2 separate regions of the Homo sapiens genome follow, and region 1 is linked to region 2. Evidence: promoter capture Hi-C in human tissues and cell types (Jung and others, 2019). All regions are on one chromosome and are shown on one strand. The core of a region is centred on a gene start or on the middle of the fragment in contact, and the rest is flanking DNA. Distances in the headings are between cores, read along the strand shown.

Region 1 (2,700 bases), core at 56-2,555, 740 kb after region 2:
TATGTTCATTTGTGTCCTATGTAGATATCATTTATAGAGCACATAGGTCTTTACATGTATGGAAACTTTTTTAATATTATTATTTTAATACCTAGCAATACTTTTACCTTGTATATCTTTTACTCTGTATGAATATCGATATATACATATATGGATATAGGTATAGACAGGTAGATAAACACAGGCATAGAGTATTATATGAGATGCCTTTGGAAATATTCAGTGTACATTCAATATTTCCCAACAGATGTTTTCAATACTCCAGCCTATCGTAAGGGCATAGATCTTGTCTTTCTTCCCTCCTATATGGTTCAATACCATTCCAGGATGGAACACAACCATAGAATGTTGTCCATATAAAGATAAAGCTTCACCTTCAGGCAAAAGGTCCAGGAAGTGAGCAAGCTGTGCTGCCATATAAGGCGTCATGTCCCACTCAGCACCTCAGGGCCCTACACTCCTTCTCGAGGGATGTCTGTGTTCTTCGCATCCATTCTTGTTGGCTTCGCTTGATGCTTCAGCAGTCCCGAGTCACCTCATTGGCTTACTGGACTCACCTGGCCTGAGCTAACTGGCTGATTTGACTCACCTGGGCTGCAGGGGCTGTAATCTGAAATGACCTTTAATCTAGATTTTATTTGGGGATTTTTTACACAGACATACTTACAAATGAACATTACATAGACATACTCATATAATGCTGTATGTGTGCGTTTACTTATGTGCCTATCTATATACAAAAGAAAGCCCCATAAAAAAACTAGGTCAGTGGTCATCTCTCATTTCAGCTGCTCCAGCCCAAGTGAATCCAATCAGCCAATTAGCTCACTACAGGTGAATCTAATCCAAGCCACACACCATACTCCATTCTCCTACCTGTGACAAAGTCCGTGTTACCTGGCACCCAGGTGTTTTTAATTCAAGGGCTCAGGAAACCAGCCCAGTGGGGTTCTGTCCATTCAGCTAGGACTGGGAAGAGCTGGCTAACATCAGTGGGTAAAGCCTTTGACAAAAAGAACAATTGGCCTGACCGATACAGCCAGTTTTGGCCCTAGAGTGCATGTTGACCCTGGCCTGTTGCCTTTTGCCCAGGTACCATGCACCCTAACATTTGCTCTCAGTACAACAGTCTATTTTCAGGGAATATATCTAGGCTTCTCTTCCCATAACCAAAAAGACCTTTCTCCAGCCAGCAAAAATTAACGACAAGAGTGTATTCCTACATCACACATTTATAGAAAAAAAATAAAGCTCCTGTCCTGATGAAAAGCCTGAAGAGAAGAAGTCGGCATTCTCAGATTTGGGCGAGGGCCTTTGGACTGGGGCTGGTTCATCTCTGGCCTGGTGCTCACCAGAGGAGGAAGGATTAACATCGATCTTGCAATGAATGATGCTTTGGCCTTAATACGTTTTTCTACTCACAGAAGAGCAACAAAAATGAATGGTTTCCTAGTATATATGAAATGCAGCAGGATGTATGTCAGAGTGTACCTTTATTTGTGTACTATTGTGGATATGGCTTATAGGGCAGATAGGTCTTCACATGTATGGAAGTTTCTTTTTATATTATTTTCACTGCCTCCATCTACCAATACTTCTATTTTCTATAGTGTGACTCTGTATGAATATAGACAGATATAGATAGATAAATAAACACACACACATACATGATGATATGAGCGTGTTTATGGAAATATTCATGTATACATACAGTATTCCCCAGCAGAGGTTTTCAGTACCGCAGCCTATTGTAAGGGCACAGACCTAGAATTTCCTCCCTCCTATATTACTCAGTACCATTCCAGAATGGAATGAAATCATAGAATGCTATATGTATAAACATAAAACATCACCTTTAGAGGCAGTGCCTGGGAAGTAAGTGGGAAGCAGCTTCTCTGGCTTCCTCTCTCCATCACCTCTCAGCTCACAAGTCTGCACTGCAAAGAGGCTGTCTTTGACCAACCAACAGAAATTAGGCCGATCTATCTATTTGATTAAAATATCTCAGTACAAGCAGCAAATATTGTATTTATTTTCTTCTAATTGTTTCCTTATGTATTACATATCTCCCTCTCTAAAATATAAACTTGACCAATATAGCCATCATAACTACCTTATTTACCTATTTGTTTCCAGCATATAGTAACATGTTTGGGGTAGATGTGTGCACAATAAATATTTTTGAAATACTTAGATAAATGTTCTCCCATCAATCAAACTGAATGAAATGTCTGAGGCTCTTTTGATAGGTCTAAGATGTAAGTAACTCTATATCATTCTAGCATGGTTTGCTAAAAGGCAACTCATGGGCTATAAAGGCAGAGACAAGGTAAGTATGGAAGTTTATATTATTAGTTTGGTAAATAATATTATGAAAAACATATAAGCTTTCCCTTAATTTTTTCAGTATTGAAGAATAGATTAAAATATCAATGTTTCTCTAGCATGGGTGATCTCAGTACAACTGGAGATAGTTTGAAGTTACTCAATATTTGGCTAACTGAACTTGCTAGTCTGCATATATAACAAACCCACAAGTCTTGACACACTGGTCTTTTAAAATATGGACTAAAGAAAATCGGACTGACTGGAACTTCCATTCTTATTCCTCTGAATATACAGCATATTCTGAATATAAAGACGGTGACATTTTAATCCCCCCCAAAATGAATATTTCTGGAAAATTGCATTCTATCAGTT
Region 2 (2,700 bases), core at 36-2,535:
TGACCTCAAGTGATCCGCCCACCTCAGCCTCCCAAAATGCTGGGATTACCGGCATGAGCCACTGTGCTCGGCTGAAAAAAACCATATTTTTAATTTAAAATAATAAATGGGTCTGACCAGAAATGCCTGCCTCAAATTGCAGGACACATGACAAAGCCCATTCTTACTTAAGACATTTTCAGTGTGCGATGGGTCTACCGGGATGTAACCCCATCGTGAGTCGAGGCCCATCTGCACCCTGCTATAGCTACTGGTAGATCTTACCTGTTTCCCAAAAAGGACCCAACTACTTTAGGTTCAAGGCACTTTTTTGGAATATTTAACAGGGAAAGAGCCTGGAACTAAAAACAGGTCTAACGCAAGATGCCGCCACACGATGGCACTGCTTCCGTAGACCTGGAAGAAACGCGGGCGCGGGAGCTGGCGGCGGACGCCCGGGTCTGCGGGGTCGGGGAGTAGCGTCCGGCCGGAGAGCCCGCACCTCGAGGAGCCGGCGGAGGACGCGGTGTCGTGACCGCGTCTCCCCCATCTGCTCTGCTTTTGGCGACAGCGTCCCGTCGGCCTTTCGGCCAGGACGCAGCAGCCGCGTCTCTGGGCCTCGACCCCCAGGGCCGGCCGGACCCGGGACCTCCGAGGAGAGCAGCGAGAACCGGCCCGGATTCCCCGAGGCGCCCGAGTGCGGTGCGGGCAGCCCTCCCCGCCTGCCAGGCCGCCGCTGTCCCCACGTCTGGTCCCCCACGCCTCTTCCCGCATCTGGTCCCACGGTGGAGGCGCGGGGCGAGGGCCTCACGCGCGTGCCCACGGTCGGGGGGCGTCCTTGGACGCGCGGGTCCTCTCCCACGGGTCTCCACCCCCCGCCCTCCGGCGACAGGAGCCGGCCTGGGACGCGCGCGCTGCGGCCAAGTCCTGGTTTTGATTTCACTCCCAACCCCGAGGAGCGAGGAGGTTCCAAGCCCACAAACAGGAAGAAGAGAAGGCCCTGGAGTGCTGGCAGAGGGAGTGTCATTCCCAGCAGCGCAGCGCAGGCCGGCCCGGGCCGGGGAGGGAGCAGCAGCGCGGGCACCCTCCTGCAACGTGGGCTGGGGGTCCCCAGGGCCGGGGAGGGGGCCCCGGGGAGGAACTGAGAGGGGGCGCGCCCCGGGAAGGCTCGGGGCGGCTCCGGGGGGCTCCCAGGGCGCCCCCGCCCCTTCCCCCGCGGCCCCGGGGCGCCCCCGCGGTGCCGGAGTCGGGGCGGGGCGTGCACGTCAGCCGGGGCTAGAAAAGGCGGCGGGGCTGGGCCCAGCGAGGTGACAGCCTCGCTTGGACGCAGAGCCCGGCCCGACGCCGCCATGAGCGCCGCGCTCTTCAGCCTGGACGGCCCGGCGCGCGGCGCGCCCTGGCCTGCGGAGCCTGCGCCCTTCTACGAACCGGGCCGGGCGGGCAAGCCGGGCCGCGGGGCCGAGCCAGGGGCCCTAGGCGAGCCAGGCGCCGCCGCCCCCGCCATGTACGACGACGAGAGCGCCATCGACTTCAGCGCCTACATCGACTCCATGGCCGCCGTGCCCACCCTGGAGCTGTGCCACGACGAGCTCTTCGCCGACCTCTTCAACAGCAATCACAAGGCGGGCGGCGCGGGGCCCCTGGAGCTTCTTCCCGGCGGCCCCGCGCGCCCCTTGGGCCCGGGCCCTGCCGCTCCCCGCCTGCTCAAGCGCGAGCCCGACTGGGGCGACGGCGACGCGCCCGGCTCGCTGTTGCCCGCGCAGGTGGCCGCGTGCGCACAGACCGTGGTGAGCTTGGCGGCCGCAGGGCAGCCCACCCCGCCCACGTCGCCGGAGCCGCCGCGCAGCAGCCCCAGGCAGACCCCCGCGCCCGGCCCCGCCCGGGAGAAGAGCGCCGGCAAGAGGGGCCCGGACCGCGGCAGCCCCGAGTACCGGCAGCGGCGCGAGCGCAACAACATCGCCGTGCGCAAGAGCCGCGACAAGGCCAAGCGGCGCAACCAGGAGATGCAGCAGAAGTTGGTGGAGCTGTCGGCTGAGAACGAGAAGCTGCACCAGCGCGTGGAGCAGCTCACGCGGGACCTGGCCGGCCTCCGGCAGTTCTTCAAGCAGCTGCCCAGCCCGCCCTTCCTGCCGGCCGCCGGGACAGCAGACTGCCGGTAACGCGCGGCCGGGGCGGGAGAGACTCAGCAACGACCCATACCTCAGACCCGACGGCCCGGAGCGGAGCGCGCCCTGCCCTGGCGCAGCCAGAGCCGCCGGGTGCCCGCTGCAGTTTCTTGGGACATAGGAGCGCAAAGAAGCTACAGCCTGGACTTACCACCACTAAACTGCGAGAGAAGCTAAACGTGTTTATTTTCCCTTAAATTATTTTTGTAATGGTAGCTTTTTCTACATCTTACTCCTGTTGATGCAGCTAAGGTACATTTGTAAAAAGAAAAAAAACCAGACTTTTCAGACAAACCCTTTGTATTGTAGATAAGAGGAAAAGACTGAGCATGCTCACTTTTTTATATTAATTTTTACAGTATTTGTAAGAATAAAGCAGCATTTGAAATCGCCCCTGCTTCCTATATTCGCAGTGACTCCCGCCCGCCCGCCGGTGGCGCAGGACCCGGCTCGGGAAGGGTGCGTTCCGGACCCGCAGCCAGCGAGCACCAGGGAGCCCGGGCGCCAGGTGTGTGTGTGGGGGGGGCGGGGGGATGGGGCGCAGGCCCGAGCTACT

Evidence for each region. Contacts are between HindIII fragments. The study calls those that stand out against the background at their distance.
Region 1: a fragment that was not itself captured here is called in contact with the fragment with the promoter of CEBPD in region 2 in 1 of the 25 tissues and cell types used here (lymphoblastoid cells).

Annotation. Positions count from the first base shown.
Region 1 is chr8:46,995,760-46,998,459 of GRCh38, reverse strand. No RefSeq gene overlaps it. Among named protein-coding and RNA genes, the nearest start is that of LINC00293, 160 kb to the right of the region's middle. RefSeq lists a silencer at 275-523. The HindIII fragment of the contact is 5,463 bases long and covers 1-2,700 here.
Region 2 is chr8:47,736,749-47,739,448 of GRCh38, reverse strand. CEBPD (CCAAT enhancer binding protein delta) reads left to right here and starts at 1,285. Exons shown (of 1, transcript NM_005195.4): 1 at 1,285-2,536. The coding sequence starts at 1,329. The coding sequence ends at 2,138. RefSeq lists silencers at 457-926, 1,017-1,096, 1,137-1,246, 1,737-1,926 and an enhancer at 1,323-2,261. The HindIII fragment of the contact is 24,041 bases long and covers 1-2,700 here.